Regions from separate parts of the Homo sapiens genome. Here all the other regions are linked to region 4. The links are contacts of gene promoters, found by promoter capture Hi-C in blood cells and fetal thymus (Javierre and others, 2016). All regions are on one chromosome and are shown on one strand. The core of a region is centred on a gene start or on the middle of the fragment in contact, and the rest is flanking DNA. Distances in the headings are between cores, read along the strand shown.

What was found. The method cuts DNA at HindIII sites, captures the fragments that hold promoters and counts their contacts. A CHiCAGO score of 5 or more calls a contact.
Region 1: a fragment that was not itself captured here is called in contact with the fragment with the promoter of YARS2 in region 4 in 2 of 17 cell types (total CD8 T cells and naive B cells); the score reaches 5.7 in total CD8 T cells.
Region 2: a fragment that was not itself captured here is called in contact with the fragment with the promoter of YARS2 in region 4 in 1 of 17 cell types (total CD8 T cells); the score reaches 5.7 in total CD8 T cells.
Region 3: a contact is called between a fragment that was not itself captured here and the fragment with the promoter of YARS2 in region 4, in 1 of 17 cell types (endothelial precursors). The highest score is 7.2, in endothelial precursors.
Region 5: a contact is called between a fragment that was not itself captured here and the fragment with the promoter of YARS2 in region 4, in 6 of 17 cell types (total CD4 T cells, non-activated CD4 T cells, naive CD8 T cells and 3 more). The highest score is 15.2, in total CD4 T cells.
Region 6: a fragment that was not itself captured here is called in contact with the fragment with the promoter of YARS2 in region 4 in 1 of 17 cell types (naive CD4 T cells); the score reaches 5.8 in naive CD4 T cells.
Region 7: a contact is called between a fragment that was not itself captured here and the fragment with the promoter of YARS2 in region 4, in 1 of 17 cell types (total CD4 T cells). The highest score is 5.6, in total CD4 T cells.

What each region holds. Positions count from the first base shown.
Region 1 is chr12:34,219,968-34,223,705 of GRCh38, reverse strand. No RefSeq gene overlaps it. Among named protein-coding and RNA genes, the nearest start is that of LINC02963, 2.6 kb to the right of the region's middle. The HindIII fragment of the contact is 289 bases long and covers 1,779-2,067 here.
Region 2 is chr12:34,035,286-34,039,039 of GRCh38, reverse strand. No RefSeq gene overlaps it. Among named protein-coding and RNA genes, the nearest start is that of ALG10, 15 kb to the right of the region's middle. The HindIII fragment of the contact is 3,326 bases long and covers 299-3,624 here.
Region 3 is chr12:33,988,804-33,992,544 of GRCh38, reverse strand. No RefSeq gene overlaps it. Among named protein-coding and RNA genes, the nearest start is that of ALG10, 32 kb to the left of the region's middle. The HindIII fragment of the contact is 3,132 bases long and covers 583-3,714 here.
Region 4 is chr12:32,754,122-32,757,662 of GRCh38, reverse strand. It overlaps YARS2 (tyrosyl-tRNA synthetase 2), which reads left to right and starts at 1,766. Exons shown (of 5, transcript NM_001040436.3): 1 at 1,766-2,567. The coding sequence starts at 1,789. RefSeq lists enhancers at 907-1,546, 1,751-1,980, 2,001-2,100, 1,547-2,186, 2,471-2,630 and 1 more. The HindIII fragment of the contact is 6,832 bases long and covers 77-3,541 here.
Region 5 is chr12:34,007,263-34,011,178 of GRCh38, reverse strand. No RefSeq gene overlaps it. Among named protein-coding and RNA genes, the nearest start is that of ALG10, 13 kb to the left of the region's middle. The HindIII fragment of the contact is 4,477 bases long and covers 112-3,916 here.
Region 6 is chr12:31,297,931-31,301,510 of GRCh38, reverse strand. It overlaps SINHCAF (SIN3-HDAC complex associated factor), which reads left to right. Exons shown (of 6, transcript NM_001135812.2): 2 at 3,287-3,434. The coding sequence starts at 3,307. Among named protein-coding and RNA genes, the nearest start is that of FLJ13224, 25 kb to the left of the region's middle. The HindIII fragment of the contact is 557 bases long and covers 1,231-1,787 here.
Region 7 is chr12:34,120,407-34,124,219 of GRCh38, reverse strand. No RefSeq gene overlaps it. Among named protein-coding and RNA genes, the nearest start is that of LINC02963, 97 kb to the left of the region's middle. RefSeq lists a silencer at 973-1,022. The HindIII fragment of the contact is 4,433 bases long and covers 1-3,596 here.

The DNA of each region.
Region 1 (3,738 bases), core at 674-3,173, 1.5 Mb before region 4:
GGGTTTTTTTTTTTTCTTAAGTAGCTAAGAACAATTGCTCTGAAGACGCAAAGCTAAACTAACTGCTAACATCCAAACACAGCCTGACAGTGTAGCTGCAAACTTTGCTCCTGATCCATGGGTAAAAGGAGCTCTCAGCTTTGCAGAAGCCTTATGTTGGTGCCGCCTGCCATGGGACAGAAAAGAAGCACCTGTGAGCAAGAGCAATGCACTCAGTATACCACTGCTGACTCCTAAGTGCCCAGAATTTCATCTAGAGAAGTAGCTTTAGAAGTTAGGTGATGAATTCTATTCATTTATTAAAATATAAATATAATATATATATATATAAATGTATATGTTATATATATATATATAAATGTATATGTTTTATATATATATATATATATATATATATTTTTTTTTTAGGCAGAGTCTTGCTCTGTTGCCTAGGCTGGAGTGCAGTGGTGTGATCTCGGCTCACGGCAACTTCCGCCTCCTGGGTTCGAGCGATTCTTCTGCCTCAGCTCCTTGAGTAGCTGTGATTACAGTCATCCACCACCACACCCGGCTAACCTTTGTGTTTTTAGTAGAGATGGGATTTCACCATGTTGGCCAGGCTGGTCTTGAACTCTTGACCTCAAGTGATCCACCTGCCTTTGCCTCCCAAAATGTTGGGATTACAGGGGTGAGCCACCGTGTCCAGCCATTTCTTTTCTCAAACAGAAGAGCAAAGATGAGGGAGTCTTCCAGCCTAACAGCACACCAAGGATATTATCTGCCTGCATTAGGAGCCCCCAGGGTACACAGGATGGCAGGAACTTCCAATGGGGTGAATGAGAGTGACTTGGAATTACTTGGTGTGATCTCTTTGGATGCTTCTGATACCTCCGTGCTTCCTGAAGCTTTTCCACTGGGCTTGGGAAAAGGAGAACCCTTTAATATTTAGTAGGGCAGAGAAAGAAGGAGAATGGAGAAGCCACGTAACACATTCTTCGGTGTTTTACTGGCTGAAAGGGCTGCAGATATTTTACATGCCCCTCAAATTGTCAACAGGCCAGGCACGGTGAATGACACCTGTAATCCCAGCACATTGAAAGGCTGAGGTGGATGGATCACTTGAGATCAGGAGTTCGAGATCAGCCTGGGCAGATGGCGAAACCCCATCTCTACTGAAAATACAAAAATTAGCTGTGCTTGGTGGTGCGCACCTGTAGTCCCAGCTAATTGGGAGGCTGAGACAAGAGGATGACTTGAACCTGTGAGGCAGAGGCTGCAGTGAGCCGAGATTGCACCACTGCACTCCAGCCCGGTGATGGAGTGAGACTCTGTCTAAAAAAAACCCCCCAAACCCAAAATTGCCAACAGGAAGAAGGCAGAAGCAAAACAGGTGCTCATGGCTGCCAGAGATTTGTGGGCCCTGCCTGGAGTAGAAGTCTAAATGCTGGCTCTGCATTGAAGACATGAGGGAATTTCTTTGCCTTGCTCTTGCCCCAGCTCCCTTTAACTGCATACCACGGTACCTCTTTCCTTTCTAGGTGATAATGCCCCATCCATAAGCAGGTTACTAACAAAAAACTCCTCTCCAAACACCTACAGGGGGAAGGTCCCCTTTTACTGAGCACCATGGCTACAATTTTAACAGTTACTGCAAAATAAAAGTTGCTACATTCTCATAATGATGGGTTTTCCCATAACCTGAAAAATTATTCACCGAGTGTCTGTAGCCAGGATGAAAAACACCCTTAAAGTTTAGATATGCATCAGTATTTCCCTCAAGAATAGCACAGGTTAAAGCTTTTATAAAGAGAAAAAAAAATAAGGAGTTGAAAAACATATAAATATAAATAAATAGCCACAAAAAGGGGAAGTTAGAGAGAGACTATGAAAACATCTTAGTCTTGAGGAAACATACAATCTGAGAAGCGATTCTGCAGGACTTGGCTGAAAGTCAATGGGAGGCTGATCAAATGAAGTGATAGAAGTCATGTAATTTGTCATATTAAGCATCTGCAACAAACCCACGTAGAATCCAAGGAATGTAGGTGATCTGACAAAAGGCCTCATGTTTAAAATTTGCCCTAAGCTTCCCCAAATCCACCAAAAATTTCCCCGTATGAGCCACCTTTTCAGATACAGTTTAGCTATCTGTTCTTGTGACACTAGGTTCATTTAAAGAGTTCTTGGGAGCCACGTGGGGTGGCTCACGCCCATAATCCCAGCACTTTGGGAGGCCATGCACAGCAGGTGGATCACTTGAGGTCAGGAGTTCAAGACCAGCCTGGCCAACATGGTGAAACCCCGTCTCTACTAAAAATGCAAAAATTAGCAGGGCGTGCTGCCATCAGCCTGTAATTCTAGTTACTCAGGAGGCTGAGGCGGGAGGATTGTTTGACTCTGGGAGGCAGAGGTTGCAGTGAGCTGAGATCACGCCACTGCACTCCAGCAGCCTGGTTGACAGAGCGAGACTGCCAAAAAAAAAAAAAGTTATTGGGGCTGGGTGCAGTGGCTCACGCCTGTAATCCTAGCACTTTGGGAGGCTAAGGTGGAAGGATGGTTTGAGGTGGGGAGTTTGAGACCAGCCTGGGCAACATAGTGAGACATCATCTCTGCCAAAAAAGAAAAAAAATCCATGTTGAGGCATTTTGTGTAAAAATAGAAAAAATTTCCTGGGCGTAGTGGTGTGCACCTGTAATCCTAGCTACTTGGGAGGCTGAGCCTGGAGGGTTGCTTGAGCTCCAGGAGTTTGATGCTGCAGTGAGCTATGATTGTGCCACTGTGTTCCAGCCTGGGCAATAGAAGGAGACCCTGTTTCAAAAAAAAAAAAAAGAAAAAAAGGCTGGACACACTGGCTCACGTCTGTGATCCCAGCACTTTAGGAAGCCAAGGCAGGTGGATCACCTGAGGTCAGGAGTTCGAGAACAGCCTGACCAACATGGTGAAACCCTGTCTCTAGTAAAAATACAAAATTAGCCAGGCATGGTGGCACATGCCTGTAATCCCAGCTACTTGGGAGGCCCAGGCAGGAGAATCACTTGAACCTGGGAGGTGGAGGTTGCAGTGAGCTGAGATTGGGCCATTGCACTCCAGCCTAGGCAACAAGAGCAAAACTCTGTCTCAAAAGAAAAAAATCTCTCTTTTTTTTACTGTTACAATGACAATAATAGAGGCTTTTCTCTCCAGGAGCTCTAAGTGAAATTAATGAGAATTCTCATGACCCTAGAAAGAGAGATTTAAAAAACACATAGCGCAGGTGTGGCGGCTCACACCTGTAATCCCAGCACTTTGGGAGGCTAAGGCGGGTGGATCCCTTGAGGTCAGGAGATCAAGACCAGCCTGGCCAACATGGTGAAACCCCAGTTCTACTAAAAATACAAAAATTAGCTGGGCTTGGTGGCACGCTTGCCTTTAGTCCCAGGTACTCGAGGGGCAGAAGCAGGAGAATCACTTGAACCCGGGAGATGGAGGCTGCCGCAGAGAGCTGATATCAAGCCACTGCACTCCAGCCTGGGCAACAGAGCCCATATAATTATTTGTATCTTTTTTTTTTTTTTTTGAGAGGTACTTTCACTCTTGTTGTCCAGGCTGGAGTGCAATGGCGCGATCTCGGCTGGCTGCAACCTCCGCCTCTCGGATTCAAGCGATTCTCCCACCTCAGCCTCCTGGGTAGCTGGGATTACAGGCACCCGCCATCATGCCTGGCTAATTTTTGTATTTTTGTAGAGACAGGATTTCACCATGTTGGCCAAGCTGATCTTG
Region 2 (3,754 bases), core at 712-3,211, 1.3 Mb before region 4:
TGGCACGATCTCAGCTCACCGCAACCTCCGCCTCCCGGGTTCAAGCGATTCTCCTGTCTCAGCCTCCAGAGTAGTTGGGATTACAGGCATGCACCACCACGCCCGGCTAATTTTATATTTTTAGTAGAGACAGGGTTTCTCCATGTTGATCAGGCTGATCTCGAACTCCTGATCTCAGGTGATCCACCCGCCTCGGCCTCCCAAAGTGCTGGGATTACAGGCGTGAGCCACTGTGCCAGGCCTTACGTATTCTTAATTATGGGGAATAGAATGCAGCTATGATTATCTGCTTCAAGCTTCTAACCACATGTTTTCAAAATGCTCAATGACAAAAATAAGCAAATATATTTGCTTAAAGCTAAAAATGTTCAAAGAATGCATTTAAAAAAATGAAAAAATCACTAGCATCTGTGACATTATGAAGGTAAGTAAAATGGTACCAAGTTCCTGTCAGACTAATAACTGGAAAAGCTGTCCAAGAGTGCCACCTTGAGGGAAAATTTAAGACAATGCATTTTGAAAACAAAATTGGCATAAAGGGTTTCAGCGTTGCCCATCACAGTTACCCCAACTAAAGAACATCACTGTAAATTATTATAGTACAAGTGAAGAGATAAGCACGGTCTTTCAACTCAGATCCTATTATATTCTTCTGTCTTTTCATATCAGTATTCCACGTGTATTTCATTTGAACGTGCCTCCTGGATGAGATATTATTTTAATGGAGAAAGGTATTCTTAGAGTCACTGGTATGTGAAGAAAGGATTCCTCTCTTTTTTTCTACTCTTTCTGGTGGTTCCTTTCTCTGTCTTCAGTCTTCCTACTTACTCTCTTCCTTCTTTTCCTAGCAATACCCCTAAAGTTCTCATGCTCATGATCCCCAGAAATACTTGTGCTTACGTGCGGGCAGGCAGTGTGTGGGTATGTGTCGGGGATATGGTTGGAGAGCTGGAGGGAATAGAATATGACATTCTCATATGCTCTTAAAATATTAATAACCAATTAGCTTTAATGTGTTACTTTTCCTTGCATTTCCTGCATTTTATGATACATTTCCCTGCATTTCAAAGAACAAAATTTATGACCAAGACATAGATTTCTAGATGTGGCTAAGTAAAAACTACTGACTTAGATCAAGATCATCCCCTCCCATGGTTCTCCAAAGCCCAGGGCCTGTTTATACCTCTGAAACCTTACAGTGTATTTGGCCCAAAGACCCAATGTATACATTACACACACACGGACACACACACACACACACACACACACACACACAGTGAAGATTCTAGGTCAAGCTAGGTTTCTTCATCTAAATTTGATTTCTTCACTAGACCTTTAGAGAGTGATAGCGTTGCAAGGAAAATATAAAAATTACATAGAACAGTACTTACTGAGAAAGACTGATAGGGTACCTGCTACAGCTCATGAAACGTTTCTCCTAAGACTGCATCTCTCCTCCTGGCTTCAAACCCTTTCAGGCCAAATATTTTAGGGAGGTCTCCGAAACTCCTCATGTTTCCGATGGAGAGCAACCTTCTCTCTGGCTTCTGCATCACTTACAACAGGATCTACAGGAGAGTGGAGGGCCTGTCTCACAGAGCCATTCTTCTAGTTTTAACTGAAACCTGGCTATCATCTCTAAATAACTATTTTTCTCTCCACACCCATTTATCTGTGGGTCTGTGTGTGGGACGTGCTTTCCTTGCTCCTCACTGTATACAGCAGAGCACTGTTCTTTCTTCCTAAAAATAACCTCAGTTCTTTGGATGCACAGGCCATCAGATGATGCAAGTTTAGCAGGAATCAGTATAGCGCCCTGGTTAAGAGGGCATGTTCTGGAGCCACATTTCCTGTTTGTAAACTGTTTCAATTCCCTATGTCTTATTTTCCTTGTCAGTAAAAATGGGGATCATAATAGCATTTGCCTTAGGGCATCTCTATGAGGCTTAAATAAATTCATGTTCAAAATTTAGACTGGTGCCTGTCACATAGCACTTCATAAGTGTTGGCCACTGTCACCACCTGCTTCTCAGCCATATGGTAGTTTAGTTTACTGTGTAATTTGTTTGCATCACATTATTCTGTATGAAATGCTTTCTGCAATGTCTCCACAGGTTTCCATACAAATAATCTCCAATGTGAATTTCTCCATGAAGTATGTCTTTGTCCCTTCTGCCAGATGTGATTTCTATTCTCAAGTAAACACCCTAGCTCTTATATTCTTCCTCAGTGATAATCAATCATGTTGTACTTTGCATTAGTTAGCCCCCATTAGGTGAGTTCATCTTGTCTGGAGTAGGTCACTTTTGTGTTTCTTGATACCATGTTTTTCACACAAGGTTCCCTCAAGTTGTCATTGCATTTAATAACAAATACTATGACAGACTTTGTTAGAGTACCATATTAGAAGTTGATATGGTTTGGCTGTGTCCCCAACCAAATCTCATCTTGAATTTTAGCTCCCATAATTCCCAGGTGTCGTGGAAGGGACCCAGTGGGAGGTAACTGAATCATGGGGGTGGGTCTTTCCCATACCGTTCTCCTGGTAGTAAGTCTCACAAGAGCCAATTGTTTTATAAATGGGAGTTGTCCTGCGTAAGCATTCTCTTTACCTGCCACCATGTAAAATGTGACTTTGCTCCTCCTTCACCTTCCACCATGATTGTGAGGCCTCCCCAGCCATGTGGAACTATGAGTCCATTAAACCTCTTTCCTTTATAAATTACCCAGTCTCGGGTATGTCTTTATTGGCAGCATGAGAATGGGCTAATACAGAAGTCCATATTCCAAAAACTTACTCTTGCCACCTAAACTATTTTCAGGAACTCTCCGTTTTAGTTTCTCAAAACCAAAAGTAATACCCACAACTTCCTTATCTAATAAACAGACTACACATAACACATGTTAACTACAATCAAGACAAGGTTCCTAGGCAGGTCATGGCAGAGGAGCTTTTATTATATTAGCTTTCCTCTAGATTGACTCATTTAAAAGGGGAAAAAAATCTTTTTGGAAACATTGAAGAGTAGACAAAAGAAGGCAGGAACTGGATGGACTCAGTTGAAAGATCTCACTGGGTGCGATCCATGTTTATATGACTTTTCCCTCAGAGGGCACACCCTAGTTAGAAAGGTACAATATGATTGGTTTGAGGTGTGAAAGGGCGGAATTCAGGACTGCTAGAGTAGCTGTGAATTAGGAGAAATCTCAGAAAAGAGGGAGTCACAGAAGAAGGGAATCCCAAAATCTGTGTATAAGTCCTGGGCTGACCTCTGAGCTGCATATGATGGGAGAAACTCGAAGACACCCAATGGAAAGTAAGAGCTGGAAGTCTGCAAACACAGAGTAGGGACCACTTTCTTTTTTTCACCACAAGACCCAAAGACTGGGGCTTGAACCCTGCCAAGTTTAGATGTGTTTGGTAAATACTCTGAGCTTCCTACAGACCTAGCCTAAAAAAGAAACCCAAGCCCCCACAAGTTCAAGGTGATCAGCCAGTAATTTAACTGCTTTCTATTATTATGAGAATAAAAGGAAGATTATACAGACACCCAGGCTAGTTATGAGCACACATCACAGGTGTTTAAAAAGATTTGGTTCTATTTTAAAATGACTAATAAAGCTTAGGATTAGGTAGGTGGTAGACAGGGGAAAATGGCTAACTGGACAGTGTGAGGGAAATACAAAGCTTCTAATACTTGGCTTAGGATAAGAAAATGTGTTAGATATAATACATTATAAAATATTATCAAAC
Region 3 (3,741 bases), core at 899-3,398, 1.2 Mb before region 4:
CATAAGCCCAAGAATTCAAGACCAGCCTGGGAAACATGGTAAGACCTCTATCTCTACAAATAAAAAAAAATTTGGCCAAGCATGGTGGTGCACACCCATGGTCCCAGGTACTCAGGAGGCTAAGACAGGAGGATCAATTGAACTTGGGAGGCTAAGGCTGCAGTGAGCCATGATCATGCCACTGTACTCCATCCTGGGTGACAGAGTGGGATCCTGTCTCAAAGTTTAAGAAGCATGACTCTAGACAGAATTATCATTACATGTAGACAGATCCATTGTCTAATTAGAGGGTCTCTACATGCTTAAGGTTGTATTATATTTATTCCAAAATTATCCCTATATCTATCCATAGTTCCCACTTAAGCCCTTTTTAAAGGTGAGCCTTAGAAAATTCAATAAGGTACCTTTAGAAAAAGATCGCTAGCATTTTGGCTTTAAGCAATAAATGTTTGACAAATTATCCATCTTTATTAATAGAAATTTAGATCATTGTTTCATTCTCACTGCTATATATTCTCAACTGTATAGATATCTCACCAAAAACCCTCCCATACCGCAAGTAAAACCTGTTGATTTAAAGCTTTTTTCCTAATTAATTTGTCTAAAGATATTGTGTTAATATTTGTCCAAAAATATTTTATTTTTGTTACAATAAAATATTGTAAATAATATTTACAATATTTTAAATCATTGTAATGCATACATATTAATACATGCTACTTTATATATTTTAGGAATAATTAATTCCTTTTTATTTTTTCCTTGCATCTTAAATTTGTTAAAAGAGCTCTCATAACAGTTATGTATTAATTAAAAGTTTAAAAACTGCCAAACAAATACATTCATTTCTTTATGTGCATTGTTGCTTTATCATCTGCATTTGATGATTCTAGTTTTTCACATCTCTTTGGTTCTAATTCTTTCATTTTTGTTCTCCAGTTTCTTGTGTTCCCTATTATCGTTGAATATATGTTCAATATTGCATGTGAAAAATTGCAAGATTGATTTGTGATGTATTATGTAGACAGCTTCCTCCAAAGGAGATATCATTTGGTTCTGTCAAGCACCAGAGCACATTACTAGTCAGTAACTACTTAAACCAAGTTTAGGTTTTGAAATTCCCTGATCCAAGAAAGTTAAACCTGGGATCAAATTCCCCATGTAATAACTGCCTCACTTTCTGTTCTCCTTAACCTTGACGGCACAACCTTTAGGGAATCCCAGCTTGGAATAGAGATGCTCAAATCTAAATCTGCTAAAATATATCTTATGCTGGTTCTGAATTCTAAGTTACGTTGCTCTCACCTCACAAAATGGAGAAAACTAGGAGTCCAATTTTATGTTATCAGCAAATGCTCTCAGGGCAAAAGTGGCTTCAATGTTTTCCTCTCAGTCTGGATCCTTGTTTTCTCTTCACTTTTGGCTTGGCTCTTCCTCACTGCCTTTCCATAATGCTTTTATGAAAGATTTAAAATTATTTTTAATTAAAAATGTTTGTCTAGCTATATATTTCTGTGACGTGGCATGAGTGATCTGAATAGCTTCACTGACCGTTACAGAAACAGGTGGGCTTCCTCTCTGTTTTTTAACTATGTCCAAAAATAATGGGATTTTGATGATATTAGGAACTTCAGCACCTATATGAAATCTGCTTATCTCATAAATGAGATATCTATTTTGATAACCTGTTAACAAGAGGACCTGGCAGGTCATAGCTACCTTGTATTTCAGGTATTTGCAGAGAAGGTGCATAAAGGAGGAGAGTTACTGTGACCAAAGGAGAAAGATGCTCTAAAATCAGCTCACGGATTGGCTTCCATCTGGGTGTTCTGCTGCTTTCAACTTAGTCTCCTCTCTCTAGCATTAATTGTCACCTGTTGTTTTTCCTCCGGTGTCCTTACTTTCTATTCTTCACTATATTATCGTGCCTCTTTGGCTTGCTTTCTTTCTCTCTACTCGGATTTCTTTCTTTCTGTGCAACTAAACTCATTGTTTTTCTTTGTGCTGCTTGCGATGGCTTTCTGATGGTTACTTTCTGTGTCATTTACTTAGTTATTTTTCCTCTTCACCTGTGATATTTGGGCTATTTTATACTAATCTAAATATTATTTCTTTCCTTTAGAAATACTTTTTTATGTGTGTGTGGGCGGTGGGGAGCGGGGAGAGAAGGTAAGAGAAAAAGACTAAAAAGATGTCCTTCTACAGGAAAATAATATCCCTTTCTATCAGCTGCTTCTACTTTCTTTTACTTCAAGATTTCCCCATTTATATCAACTCACCCACAACAAAATCCATTAAAAGGTTTAGTTGACTTGCTAGCACATCATTAAACATCCATTTCAGTTATGTGTGTACTATCACTACATGTACATAATTATTGCTAGCTACAGTGCTAGCTAGCTGGATTTATTCTTCCTAACAAAACTCCTTATTCTGTTTCCTATAATGTCAGTAGCAGCTACACACCCAATCCTCATAGTTGCCAACAGCAACCATTTCTGATTTCCTGACCCTCCCTTACAAACGGCAACAACAAAAAAAGAATAGGATCCAGTAAAAACATCTTGATTTAAAAGCATCTTGATTTTCTGGAACAAGTCTGTTCTTCCAATCATCAAAACAGATTATCCATGTCTCCTTATTTCAATACATAAACATTTTCTTCTTCAGAATGACCCCCCACTTCACCAGCTACATGAGGTTGTCAGTGAGTTAATTGACAATTCTAACTCTATATTTAAATTGTCTGATTAAATCCATGGAGCAATGTCAGAAACGTCAGAGGAAGGAGTCATAGCTATGGAAAGAATACAGCTCTGAAATTTAGAAACGTGGGTTTTAGTTTTGGCTGTTACTAGCTAGTTGTAATCTGGACAAATTATTTAATCCTCTATGTCTGTTTCCTTTCTCATAGGATGAAATGGCTTGGTGAACTTTAGTCAAGTTAGTCAATATTCATGATAATGATAGAAAATTCTTATTTATATAATGTAAAACAAACTCTGCAAAGTGCCATATATTCCTTATTTATTATTTCATTTATCATTTTAAGAACTCAGTAAAGTAAGCGTACTTACTATCTACTAATCAGGAAATTAAAACTCAGATTATGCAGTTTTCAAAATGAAATATTAATACATGTCAGGGCCAGGTTTCAAATCACATTATTCAACTCTTTGAATTTGCATTACACTTCTCTTCTATTCTTAGCATGATTACGGGCCACGTCCTTTTGGCTACCAGTTATGATTTAATAGTGTTCCCTAAAACGTCATCTAAAAATAAAATAATACATATAGCCAAATGCTAATTATATAGCAGTAGCAGAGGTATTCAGGAAATTCGTCAGTTTTCTTTTTCTTCCCAGTTCCTGTGAGTCATTGCTCATTGTGTGAAATAAGATGCCCTCAGGTGAATAGCTAACTTTGTTAGAAAAACACCATCAACCATGAGCAATCGTGACAATAAGGATTTTCCTGTCAAGTAGTACTTTTGGATTAGACACAATACCATTGTTAAGTAGTGGGGAGTCCAGCTGCCTGGCTTCTTTCCTTAAATGTGTAACTAAGCATACTCACTGTTACCCACTGAAAGCCAATTAGTATTTGCAACCTGAAGAGCCATCTTTGGGGAGCAAATTTCTAACTGGATAACTGACCAAACTAACTCAGTATCATTTATAAATTTAATGATGCTTGTTTGACTAAGAAAGCTTTAATGAATAACTATAATTAATGGCAA
Region 4 (3,541 bases), core at 517-3,016:
ATATGACTGCAGATTGGCCTTGCGAAGTAGCTCATGCCTGTAATCCCAACACTTTGGGAGGCAGAGGTGGGAAGCTTGCTTGAGGCCAGGAGTTTAGGACCACCCTGGGCAATACAGTGAGACCCCCGTCTCTACAAAAACAAAAAATAAAAATTAGCCAGGCATGGTAGTCCACACCTGTAGCTCCAGCTACTTGGGAGGCTGAGGCAGGAAGATCGCTGGAGCCTAGGAGTTCAAGGCTGCAGTGAACCATGATCCTGCCACGGCACTCCAGTGTGGACAACAGAGTGACACTTAAAAAAAAAAAAAACACTGAAGATCAACAGGTTATGATTGCAAATTTTAAGATATTTTGAACACACTATTTTCTTAAGCAGTTGGGAGTATGTTTAATAGCCTATTGAATGAGTATCTCAAAATCCTATTGAAGTTACTATTTGGCAATGAGAAACTAATTCACTGATAATTATACATGCAAAGAAACTAATTATTAAAATAAGTTTTCATTTTGTTAGATAACTTTATAACGTTAAAAAATGGAAAAGTCCTGTAGGGAATGATTTGGAACATGGCCCAGATCCCAGTCACAGGACCAAGGCACTCAATCCCCCAGCTGCTGGGAGTGTTGGTTGCTTATTGCTCACAGCTGAGTCCCTTCCTGCACATCTCACTCTCCAAAAGCCTTAACCCAGCGTTTTGCTTCCTCCCCAGAAACATCCCACATTTAATGAGCAGTCAGTAAGAGGGTCTAAAGGTCTGCCCCCTGGCCTCAATTCAGGATGACTCTGAAAGGAAATCCCGGCTCCAGAGCCCTTACTGGATTGCCTGAGGCCTCTATTACAAATTGTTCACAGTTCAACTTCTTTCTCCCTCCGCCCAACCCGGCCTCCCTCACTCCATTATAGGTGTTGTTCTTAAGAGCACACTCCAATTACCCTCCTGCAAACCAGTCTCCCCCCCAACTCAGAGTCCAGGGAATTCTACCTAAGACGATTTTGAAAGCGGTCCTAGAAATCAGGCTCTAACATGGGATTTTGAAGCTAGATCACCTGCCAGCCAGCTGCCAATAAGAACCTCATCCCTGGTCAGTATTCAGAGCACCTGTCACGCTGCACGATGTGATTACTAACTTGAATCCACTCATGCTAAGCTGTGTCCCAACCTAGTTAACTGTATTTAAAATAAATAAACCACAGGACTTGATGCATGTACTTTATTGCACTGAGTTTTTCTTGCTATACCTTGGACAAGACTGCCACCTCCTGGAAGAGCCGATGAATACTGGGGACGAGGTGCAATTAGGGAATCGGTACTATGAAATTGCTTGCGTCTCAGCAGCAACTCCCTATCTCTCCGCGAACTTAAACCAATTCCTAACCTTTCTCAACCTCTGTGAACAGCTTTTTGCATGGAACCAAGACTTCAAAGAACTTGCGCATCACAATCTTTTTACGTGAAAATGTAAATACAAGTTAGCATTTGTGAAGCGTTATGTGCCAAATGCTTTAATTTTTAAGGCTCACAACAGCCTTATGAGGTAGGAACTATCATAAGCAGATCCACACTGCTGATGGAAAAATTAAGTTTAAGGGAACGTAAGGCGACGGCTCTGAGGCGGAATCGCCACTTGGAGTCGGGACTCAACTGCTGAGAGCGCAAGCTCCGTAACTACGTAACCGTCTCGGGCATGCGCAGAAAAACACTGAAGCACCTTCCCTAGGAGCTGTAAGTAGGTGGGTGTGGTGGGAGCCTCTGCAATCCCAGCATTCCCTTCGTGCCGCTACCAAGATGGCGGCGCCCATCTTGCGGTCCTTTTCCTGGGGCCGGTGGTCTGGTACCCTAAATCTCTCAGTATTGTTGCCCTTGGGGCTGCGTAAGGCCCACTCGGGCGCTCAGGGGTTACTGGCAGCGCAGAAGGCTCGAGGTCTGTTCAAGGACTTCTTCCCGGAGACGGGGACGAAAATAGAGCTCCCAGAGCTCTTCGACCGTGGCACGGCGAGTTTTCCCCAAACCATTTACTGTGGCTTCGACCCCACGGCAGACTCGCTTCATGTGGGTCATCTACTTGCGCTGCTGGGCCTGTTTCATTTGCAGCGAGCGGGCCACAACGTGATCGCGCTGGTGGGAGGCGCCACGGCGCGCCTGGGAGACCCGAGCGGCCGTACCAAGGAACGCGAGGCGCTGGAGACAGAGCGCGTGCGAGCCAACGCGCGAGCTCTGCGCCTAGGGCTTGAGGCCCTGGCGGCTAATCACCAGCAGCTTTTCACTGATGGGCGCTCCTGGGGCAGCTTCACTGTGCTGGACAACTCGGCCTGGTACCAGAAGCAGCACCTGGTGGACTTCCTGGCGGCAGTGGGGGGTCACTTCCGCATGGGGACGCTGCTGAGCCGGCAGAGCGTGCAGCTGCGGCTCAAGAGCCCCGAGGGCATGAGCTTGGCCGAGTTCTTTTACCAGGTGCTCCAGGCCTATGACTTCTATTACCTCTTCCAGCGTTATGGATGCAGGGTCCAGCTGGGCGGATCTGATCAACTAGGCAACATCATGTCCGGATATGAGTTCATCAACAAGTAAGTGCCTTTAAACCTTGGGGAAATCCTGGGACCAAATAATTTACACACTAGTAGCCTGTGATTCACTCTTAGGATTGTAGTTGCTGCCCTTCGTTCCAGCTCTTGTTGGTTTTATCCCCATTAAGGCTCTATAATGGCGTTAATAACACTGGCTAATAAGAATTAAAGGGCTGAATTAAGGGTATTAAGAGTAAACGGTGTATTCTAAAAATTAGCTGGGCGTGGTGATGCACGCCTGTAATCCCAGCTATTCGGGAGGCTGAGGCAGGAGAATCTCTTGAACCCGGGAGGCGAAGGTTTCAGTGAGCCGAGATCGCGCCACTGCACTCCAGCCTGGGGCAACAGAGGGAGACTCCGTCTCAAAAAAAAAAAAAAAAAAAAGGGAAACAGACCACTAGTGAAGATTTGGTCGGTCTGTTTTGCTTCGCCTAAGTCGTCCTCTCTAATTAGAGAAACTGCTTTTGTGTGTTTATACCAGAACGTGACTGGGCCTCCTTGAGTAGCTAGCCTCTGCTTTAGCTCTGCACCCTCCATGAAACTAGTGTTAGTCCTTGGTTGGTATCTCAAAAAGTTTTTTCAACTCCAAATAATTGACAAGTAATGCGGGTCTAATAGCATTTTCTTGAGAGAGGTGAAGGATAGGGCTAGCTCATGTGCAACAGAGCAAAGCACATGTTTAAAAGGCGTTTAGAAGATTTCCTTTAGTGTCTCTTCCTGACACCCCTTCACCCAGTTTTCTCCTTCCCACTCAGCCTTTCAAAATCTCTAGTCCATTGTTATGTAGCACTTCCCCTTGGCCTGCCTAGAACCTGCCTGGAACCACTCATGAGGTTCAGAATGAATAGAGTAAGTACTGTAACAATACATAAGAGGAACAAGAATTCAGATTTAGGAGGTCAAGGAAGTTTTCCTGGAGCAAGTAACCAGAAAGAAATCTGGAAGGTGAACAGTAGAACCTACCACCACTTGTG
Region 5 (3,916 bases), core at 1,101-3,600, 1.3 Mb before region 4:
TTAGAGTTGTGTTTATTACAAGAGGATTTTTTAATACCAACATGTGAAGCTTATATAAGATGAAGATAAAATATTTAGATTTTTATCAATATAGTCTCAAGAGTAAAAGCTTTAATAAACAAACATGGATTTACAAAGCAAACAGCATGGGGATAATTTTTCAAATTACATAATGTTTTCATTGTTTGAAAACAAAACAAGAACTACAACACCAAAAAGAGTAAGGGCTCCTTTCCACAGCAAATGCCCTAGTTTAATAAAAGAAAGATTTGATTGTTAAAATTAGAATTTGTATATAAATTTGCAGAAACATATTTATTCTCTACAGTGAAGTTAGTAGATATGTAAAGACATTAATTAGTACCAATAACAACATGTATATTGTACCTTTGATGTTGTCTTAGTTTCCATAAAATCTGTTATTTTGACAGTGTTCATTTAGCATGAATAATAAATCAAAATATTTTAACCTAATAATTGATGGTCATTATTCATAGAACAACAATAATTAAAATTTGATTTGTTTATTTATGATAAACATGGTAGAATAATTAGCTATGTGAAAAGCATTTATTTTAAATAGGTTCATGTGTCTTTTGATAAACAAAAGATCTACACATTTTATCTCTGTCCCTAGTACATTTATTCCATCACAGAACTTCTTAGTTTGAAAACATAATTTATATACACAGTTTGCCTTTTAAACTGGAATTTCAATCTTTCAACAAGTGTTTATTAAGCACTAAGCACTAGGGAAAAAAGCAGTTAATACAATAGGAATAACTCCTTTTCTCATGGACAACCATCTACTACAGTGTTTCCTAAGCAGCAGTATTTTTAGATGTTGTCTAAAGGTACATAATTCTCTATAAAAATTTTAAAACACAACTTTCCACGATAATTAAAATGTATTTTATGCTGTCTAATATGATCATCACAGCCACATGCAACTAGGGTAGTTGAACAGAGACTTTAATTAACTAATTAATTAATTAATTTTTTTGAGACAGAGTCTCTCTCTGTTGCCCAGGCTGGAGTGCAATGGCTCCATCTCGGCTCACTGCAACTTCTGCCTTCTGGGTTCAAGCAATTCTTTTTCTCTGCTTCTCGAGTAGCTGGGTCTACAGGCCTGTGCCACCATGCCTGGCTAATTTTTGTATTTTTAGTAGAGAGGGGTTTCACCATATTGGCCAGGCTGGTAATTTAATTAAATATTAACTTAAATATTAATTTTTTATATTAACTTCTCTTTAATGATTAGTGGTTATTGTACTAGAAAATGCAGTGCTAGATGTTCTTAGAGTTGATACTGCAATGCGAACTAGGCACTTGTGTTTGATTTTATGTTTATACCCAGGCTTGCGATGTTTGGAGGCCCAATGATAACATGGCTGACCATCCTACTGATAAATGTTTCCCAATGCATAATTTGAATAGTGAAAGATGGTGAGAGCTTTTGGGTATCATAAAACTATAGCAAATATGGACACTGGCCTGGTACAGTGGCTCACATCTGTAAATCCAGCACTCTGGGAGGCCGAGGTGGGCAGCTCGCTTGAGCTCAGGATTTTGAGACCAGCCTGGACAACATGGCAAAACCCCATATTTACCAAAAATACAAAAAATTACCCGGACATGGTGGTGCACCTAGCTACTTGGGAGGCTGATGTGAGGAAGGCTTGAGCCCAGGAGGTGGAGGTTGCAGTGAGCCGAGATCACACCACTGCAGTCCAGCCTGGGTGACAGAGTAAGACCTCATCTCATCTCAAAACACACACACACACACACACACACACACACACACACACACATATAGTAAATAAGAATGTCTAACTGGAAAAGTCCAATGGCATAGTAGCAAGTATGCAATTTAGGTTACAAGCATTGCTTAAGTCTATTAATTTGCCTTGTAAATTTGCTTCATATATTTGTTTAAGAATTATAAACAAAAGCTAACTCAGTTTTATGCTGTACTTATTTAAATAAAAAATAATTTAAATATTTTATCAATGCTGAAGAGAACTTTTTTTCTTGAAAAGGGTCATTAGTCACTGAAATTTGAGAAATATTAGTCTAGCAAATAAGATGTAGTCACTGTGTTGGCATTATTCAACTAGCTTTGTGGCCTATTTGACTCTCACAACCACTCTGTGAGGCAGTTATAACCAAGATCACCAATTTATAGCTTTGGAAAGAGGTTACTACTTCAGCAATCTGCTTAAAGTCCTATAGAACAAACAGTGATTCAGGGTTTAAATTCACATCCTTTTTATTCCAGAATAGTATATGCAGTATGCTAAGAAGAATAATGGCTCCCCAAGGGTGTCTACCTCCTAATCCCTACAAATGGTGAATGTGTTACCTTAAGTGGCAGAAGATACTTTGCAGATATGGTTAGGTTAAGCATCATGAGCCTGTTCAGTAGGTCCAACATAATTACAAAGGGTCTTAGAAAATGGAGGAAGGAAGCTCAGAATGAGAGAAGGAGACATGATGATGGAAGCAGAGGTCAGAGTGATTTGAGAAAGGGACCACAGGCCAAGGAAGGCAGGAGGCCTCTAAGGAACTAGGAAGGTTAAGGAAATGGATTCTGCTCTAAAGCCTCCAGAAGGAATACAATACTGCTGACACCTTGAAGACATCCTTACAAGGTAGTTTAGGGTCCATTTCATACCCCTTTGTGAGGAGGGACTTGGGGGAGAGTGTAGGGAGGGATGTTGTGCTTCATTAAAAACCCCTTTCTTCCAGCATACATCGCAATAAAGGAGCTTTCAATTCAGTAACATGTAGGACACTCTCAAGAGGATTTCTGATAAATACATTCTTCTCCCTCATTTAATTTCCAGTGATGTTTTATGGGCAATTAGTTACAGATTGGATACATACACTTTAAAGTGTTTAGTTTATTGATCCCATAATCTGGCTCAAAAACAACTTAGGTTTTTATTAGAAAACAGACGAAAAAAATGAAATAGACACATTTGGTCCTGAAAAGAGGCTGGAGAATCTAGGATGTTGTATAGAGACACGCGCTCAGAATTATCCACCAACAATATTGTCACCCTCCTATGCCAACACTGAAAATGGTTGCCATTTTTCAGAAATGAATCATCTCTACTTTGCAAAATAATACAAAATCCCAGAGTGGAAAGTGAAAGAAGATAAAGGTAAGGGGTTAATTACTATATTTTAAAAATAACGCTTTGTAAGACAAAATTGCTTATTTATGTTTTATTGAGGGCCAGGAGGGCATCTTCATCATATCACATAGAATTAGTTCTGCAAATAGTGTAATTACTATGCTTGTCTCATTATGCTGCTATTTTCTGGTTTTCTAGGATAAGGAGAGAAAATTATTGGCTGCCTTTTCACAGATTCCTGGTTTTATTTTCTCTCTAGGGTATAATTTGTAAGAATAGAAAATAAATCTGTTACACATTGTAAAAAATATAGAATCATAAACTAGTTTTACTTAAGTTGAATATATTCATATATACCAATAAGAGAAACAATACTATTAATTGTATTTATGAAAGACCCAAATTTACAAAGCCGAAGAGTATGAGTTTTTTATCTTTACATAAAACCTACAAAGATTTGTAAAGCAACTATAGATTACCATTTTACAGCTGAAAAATTCTGAGTCTAGAAAGATCAACATGCTTAAAGTCATGCAGATGGTAAAGTAGTTGAATCTAGAACTTGAACCCAATACTTGGCATTTTCTTTTGGTTTTGGGTTGCTTTTTTGATTCATTGGTGAATGATTTGGTAAATGAGATAGGTGCTCCTAACACCTAGGAAGTTAGAATTGTCCATTGGAATAAACAGCTGATTTCATTATAGAAACTTGGATAAGGTATTAGGAAAGGTTAAGAAAGGAAGCCACCATTTATTGTGCTGGAACTTAGAGGCCA
Region 6 (3,580 bases), core at 260-2,759, 1.5 Mb after region 4:
TCCTTGTGTGTTGCATAAGGACAGGTGTCTGCCACCTCATTGCATTTCTCACTGAGCATTGCCTAGGAGAGGGTAAGCCCTAGGATTTAGATCCCTCTCAGATGTTCAGGCAGAATAATTTTGTCAGGACAAAAGTAAGGTCACGGAACTATATGAAAATGGATTATGAATCCTAAGACATCAGCCTATTCTCCCCTATGTCTAAGAAGAATATTCCTCAGCTTATGACTGGAATGTCTTGCTAGGGGTGCTGGGTAAGTTTTGTGGAGGTCCCCACCAGCAGAAAAAAATCATTGAAGAGGAACACTTAATTCACAATGGCTGCTGATTAAAAAGAAAGCCTCAATATTCACCTATAACCCTAACATCCTTAACAGCTTAGCAGTGTGGTAACTGGCACAAACTATGGCGTCTTGGTCAAATCCAACCTCAGTGAAGGTAGTTCACATCCTAGAGATGAGCTGAATGCTGATAGCTTTGAGGACTTGTTTATTTGGGGGAAGGGAAAGAGATGGTGAGGGTAGAGATAGGAATCTGTCTGTCGTAATAGGATTTGGTCTGTGTATTAATGGAATGAACTGGCCTTTTTTGCTCTGCTTCTTTTGTCCTTGCTGAGAAGGGAGGCTGAAGTTTCCAAGAGTTATGGATGAAGTTGGAGAGTATTAGAGGAACTGTTCTCTGACCTTCTTGATGGTAATGCAAGCTGTTGGGCGAGTTTGGAGAAGAGCGCAGGGTGGTGTGAGGACGAGGGCCGTATTAACATTTTGCCTTAAAACAGGAATACACAAATTAAAGCAATAACTGCTACTCTGCTTTCTTGTTTCTGCAATCTTCTGTCATTTGACATTGTTTTTTCCAAAGCAACATGCGACCATTTTCTTCAGGATTTTCTTTTCAGTTATCATATGGGTTTGTTGTTGGATTGAGAAAAAAAAATCTGCCTCATTTGAGCAGGCCTCTCTAGATCTTTTCTTATGACTGTGTAGAGGGTACTTCCTCATTTTTCTTCCTCTCAAAGACATCAAATTCCCAAGCATTTAACTAAAATTATTATCAACTAAAAATGTTTTTTTTAAAACAGTTCTTAGAGGTAACTGTTTAGACTTAATTATTGAAATGCATGAAGGCCTTCTGCCTTGCCCCCATCCCACTCTTTTGCCTGCCTCTCTCACCAACAAAAACATGGCAGAGGAACAGTTTATTAACAATAGCCTGTTTGAAAGGGAAGCTTCAGTTTTTAGCTAATTATTTGCTAATAAAAGTTTTAAAAAAATTTTCTTTTAAAAGTTGTAAAACCTCTGTCTATATTTCAAAACCCCTCAATACCAAAAAAATACACATAAAAAGCCTGGATATTTGGTTCTGAATCATTTTCATTAATACTTGCTATATTATACTAACCAGAATTGGAATGGAATGGGATCAGACGAGATAATCCAAAGACAAATACAGCCATATGTCACACAAGGACGTTTCGGTCAACCACAGACTGCATATATGATGGTGGTCCCAAAAGATTATGATACCATATTTTTTTGTACCTTTTCTATATTTAGATGCACAGATTCTTACCATTGTATTACAGTTGCCCACGGCATTCAGTACCGTCACACGCTGTATAAGTTTGTTGCCTTGGAACAGTAGGCTATCCCATATAGCCTAGGGGTGTTGTAGGCTATTGCCATCTTGGTTTATGTGAGGACACTGATGTCTGCACAAGGATGCCCAATGATGCATTTCTCAGAATGTGTCCCCATTGTTAAGCAACACATGACTGTACTGAAGCTTTAGGTTTACTCATCTAAGTTTATTTCTAAAACAACTTTAAAAAGATAGTGTTCTGTGGTAATAACTCCTAAAACTATGGACACGAAAGTGATATTAATAATTTTCTTGGCCGGGCACGGTGGCTCACGCCTGTAATCCCAGCACTTTGGGAGGCCGAGACGGGTGGATCACAAGGTCAGGAGATCGAGACCATCCTGGCTAACATGCTGAAACCCTGTCTCTACTAAAAATACAAAAAGTTAGCCGGGTGTGGTGGCGGGCACCTGTAGTCCCAGCTACTAGGGAGGCTGAGGCAGGAGAATCACTTGAACCTGGGAGGCAGAGCTTGCAGTGAGCCTAGATCGCGCCACCGCACTCCAGCCTGGGTGAAAGAGTGAGACTCTGTCTCCAAAAAAAAAAAAATTTTTTTCTTTTATTGTTGCTTTATGTGATAATTTTGTGATAATTTATAGTTAGACCCTCATACATACACACATCCTCTGACTTGTCCATTGGAGTTTAGTTTCTATATTCATTGCCTTTTCATCACCTCTCTTAGTCCGGTTGTTTTGGTGAGCTGGCCCTTGATTTGGATATTCCAAATTACTTTTCCTAAGGTACAGATTTACTGCCAGCTACATATTTGCATCCAGCCCCAGAGCTGTTTTCATTCCTTCCTTGACGTTGAGATTTTTTTTTTTTTTAACAGGAGGACTGCAATTTATTTCACTCTACGTCTCTGGGACATTTGCCTCCCACTGTTACTACTCTCAGGCACAAAGCCTTGTAGAAGAGGTCCACAAACCTCTAACAACTAAGGGGCAGATCAGCGGTCAGACAACATGAGCTCGTTCTTTTTTTGTCTTAATGATAATAAGGAATTATTATTATTAAATTCTAACCTTGGATTTTTGTGAATTTTACATCTTCCCTTCAGCAGTTTCAATTCAGGGGCAAACTTGACTGCTTAGAACTTCCCATTTATCACAGAAGAAATCCCCTCTGAATTCCCATTAGGCAAAGTAGTATGGGCTGATGCATAGTGAGCTAGTTGTGTGCTTAGTATCAAATAGTATTCATGGTAAATGCTCAAAACTTCCCCAGAGGGGAATCACGTTAATGCAAATGTGCAAAATAAAAAGGTGTGTCTTAAATTTAAGGATGCATCCTTAATTGTGTACAGCTTCATTATTTTACAGGATTGTTTGTGGCATTTCTTACTTCAAAACCTGATTTTAAAAAATGCTTCTCTTCCCCATTTTTAGATTGCATGTTTGTTAGGCGAGTTAGGAGGTAGTAGAGTCCTCCTTAAATAACTAGGCTTTTCTTTGTGTTTTATACGCTTGCCTTGATAGTGCCAAGAATGGAGGTCGATCCAGGAGGTCTTCCCTTGAGCTGCCTGCCTGTCTTGGTCATATAACACCAAGTTGCTTGGGGGTGGGGTGGAGCAGAGAGAACTCTTTAATGGTTCCTTGTTACAGCCCTCAACAAAGATATGTCAATTCCCTTGGCTTTACAGACTATTGCCCAGAAGAAAAGATGTTTGGTTTTCACAAGCCAAAGATGTACCGAAGTATAGAGGGCTGCTGTATTTGCAGAGCTAAGTCCTCCAGTTCTCGATTCACTGACAGTAAACGCTATGAAAAGGACTTCCAGAGCTGTTTTGGGTAAGATCACCTGATGTTTGTACTATTCTTAGAGTGAAAAAATACCACAGCATACAGAAATATTTGTAAGCAAGGTGATTGGAACAATGTGCTAATAATAAAAATCACTTATTCTAATTTAGGCTGTGTAAGTCTCCTGCTTTTTA
Region 7 (3,813 bases), core at 131-2,630, 1.4 Mb before region 4:
TAACTGTCCCAAAAACTGAGGAATGGCGGCTCTATAAACTGTGTACCAGGAGGCTGCCAGAGCCAGACCTACACAATATGTAGGGAATGCTTTTCAAGGTACCAGGTGTATGGACTGAGGACAACCCCCCCTGGGCTTGCTGCAAACAGACCCCCAGTGGTAGTAGAGCTTAACCCTCATGCTGCCCCGGTACCAGTCCGTCAATACCCCCTCCCCAGAGAGGCAATTGATGACATAACAAAACATTTAAATCAGCCCTATAAACAAGTGATTATAGTAAAATGCAAGTCTTCCTGGAATACTCCTCTGCTGCCTGTTCGCAAGCCAAATGGTGAATACAGGCCAGTGCAGGACCTCCAGGGTGTAAACAAAGCCACTGTCACTATCCATGCCATAGTACCCAACCTATACACAATGTTGGGGTAGATTCCTGCTGAGGCCGCGTGGTTCACGTGTCTGGACTTAAAGGACGCTTTCTTTTCCTTGAGACTGCTTCCCAAAATCAGCCTATATTTGCCTTCCAGTGGAGACAATCGCAGTATACCTGGACAAGGCTGCCACAAGGGTTTAAGAATTCTCCTAGGTGGGAATTGAACAATGAGATCACATGGACACAGGAAGGGGAATATCACACTCTGGGGACTGGGGTGGGGAGGGGGGAGGGGGGAGGGATAGCATTGGGAGATATACCTAATGCTAGATGACGAGTTAGTGGGTGCAGCGCACCAGCATGGCACATGTATACATATGTAACTAACCTGCACAATGTGCACATGTACCCTAAAACTTAAAGTATAATTAAAATAATAATAATAATAATAATAGTAATAATAATTAAAAAAATAAAATAAAATAAAAAAAGAATTCTACTATTTTCGAGGAGGCTTGGGCTACCGACCTTGAGGCTTTTGCGCCACCTAGTGACAATTGTGTGCTATTACAACACATTGATGATTTGCTCTTCGCTGCCCCCATGAGGGAGAAATGCCTCTAAGGAACAGAGAGGCTTCTTCACTTGCTGCGTGAAGCTGGTTACATAGTGTCCAAGGACAAGGCAAAAGTCTGCTTTCGGGAGATTGAATATCTAGAATTCATGGTATTCCAAGGCCAGTGCAGACTTAAAAGTGCATGCAAGGAGGCTGTATGTGCATTGCCCACCCCAGTTACAAGGTGGCAGGTCAGGGAATTTCTAGGTGCAGCGGGATTCTGCCGAACCTGGATTCCCAACTTCTCCCTTATAGCAAGGCCCTTATATGAGACTACCGAAGAAAAAAAAAGAGGGCTGCTCCTGTGGAAAAAGAAACAAGAAAAGGCCTTCAAAGATACAAAGGAAGCTCTCATCCAAGCTCCGACGCTAGTGTTGCCAGATGTAAAAAAAAAGTCCTTCTTTTTGTACGTGGATAAACAAAAGGGAATGACAGTCGGAGTCTTAACTCAATTGTTGGGTTCTTGGCATCAGCTGGTAGCATACTTACCCAAAGACTGGATTTGGTGGCCTTAGGTTGGACCCACTGCTTCAGGGCGTTGGCAGCTACTGCAATCCTTATAGAAGATGCCAACAAGCTAGCCCTAGGTCAAAAGTTAATAGTTAGGGTGCCACACGCTGTAATCACCTTAATGGAGCAAAGAGGACATCGTTGACTGTCCAATTCTAAAATGCTAAAGTATCAAGGGCTTCTGTATGACAATCCCCAGATAACACTAGAGACTGTAAATACCTTAAACCCAGCTACCCTGCTGCCTGTGGAGAAACCTGATTGAAAGGACGGTGGATTGCCTCACTGCTGGCAGGATCTTCCCCACTGTTGCATAAATACGGTGGACAAAGTGTTCTAGAGCTGGGAAGATCTCAGAGATACCCCCTTGGAGAGCTCAGATGTTAAATACTTCACTGATGGCAGCAGTTTCATAACAGATGGGGTATGATATGCAGGGTATGCGCAGTAGTGACCCAGCACTCGGTGGTTGAGGCTCAGGCCTTACCTTCTGGGACTTCTGCTCAGAAGGTTAGATTAATAGCATTAACCAGAGCACCGTTATTGGCCAAGAAAAAAAGTAAACATATATACTGATCAAGATATACTTTTACAATCCTGCATGCCCGTTGGACAATATACAAAGAGACAGGAGTTTTGACTACTAAAGGCAAAAAAAAAAAAATTGCAATTATTAAAAACCATATGGGCTCCAGAGAAAGTGGCTGTCATTCATTGCAAAGGACACCAAATTGAGAAAAGCTGAGATGCAGGGCAACAGAAAGGTAGACCGAGAGGCTGGGCGGGCAGCAATGAGCAAGGCTTTACCTGAAAAAAAAAACTTTATCAATTCCTCTCCTTATAGAGCCCCCTTTGCTGGAGGTACCCAATTACTCTTCAGTAAAAAAAACTTGGTTTGGTCAGAAAACAAAAAAATATATTAAAGGTGGATGGTGGCTGTTCTCTAACAGGAGGCTAGCCATCCCAGGGACAATAGCCCCAAGGTTTGTGACACAGATCCATCAAGGAACACACATTGGAAGGACAGCCCTAGAAACTTTGATAGGTTGGCATTTCTATGTGCCACAGCTCTCTGCCATCACCTGTACTGTTTGTAAACAAGGTCTATCCTGTGCCCAGAATAATCCAAAACAAGGACCTACTCGACCTCCAGGAATTCAGGAAGTAGGGGCTGTGCCTTGTGAAAACCTGCTTGTAAACTTTACTGAGTTACCTCTAGCAGGAGGTTACCAATATATGCTAATGTTTGTTTACACCTGCTTGGGGTGGATTGAGGCCTTCTCCACCAGGACTAAAAAGACAAGAGAGGTGACAAAGGTACTACTAAAAGACATCATACCAAGATTTGGGTTTCTTTTAACCCTAGGATCAGACAATGGTCCTGCATTTGTGGCAGATGTAGTACAACAGCTGACTCAACTTTTAAAGATCAGATGGAAACTGCATACAGACTACTGACCACAGAGCTCAGGGAAGGTAAAATGGATGAACTGGACACTCAAACAGCTACTAAAAAAGTTTTGCCAGGAAACTCACGATGGGATCATGTCTTGCCCATGGTCCTCCTCCAGGTCAGGTGTACACCTACAAAACAAACTGGGTATTTGCTCTATAAAATATTGTTCGGAAGGCCACCCCCAATTATTAATCAAATTAGAGGGAATTTAAAGTAGTTAGAAAAGTTAATTCTTAGAAGACAGATGCAGGCTTTAGGAGTAACAATGCAGGAGGGGCAAAGCTGGATAAGAAAAAGAATACCTGTAAGTCTAACAGACCCAGTGCATCCACATAAGCCGGGGGACTCTGTCTGGGTTAAAAGGTGAAATTCAACAACCCTGGGGCCCTTATGGGATGGGCCCCATATTATAATCATGTCTACTCCTACTGCTTTTAAAGTTACAGCTGTCACACCTTGGATTCACCATAGCCGACTGAAACCAGTGGCAGCAGTGACTCCCAATGATGACCATTGGATTAGCCAACAAGACCCAGATCACCCCACCCGAATGGGCCTACGGCGAAACCCAACCACCAGTAAGAAGGACAATTGCCTTGCTCTGACCACACTGGAGACTGGTCAGTCTACCCAGAGCTGAAGCTTGAGAATCCTGCAAGCTCTGCTCTAGTCACATCCTGGAATCTGACTAGTCCACACACAGCCGAAGCTAAGAGGGCCATCACTGAATAAGTAAATATGAATACAATTTATAACCCTAGTTATAATTCTGTTAATACTGATTTTTATGTTGTTATGTTATTACTGCAAATGCTGCAAATGTCTATGCCCAGAGGAAGGTTTGCCGTGCTCATGCGTAGT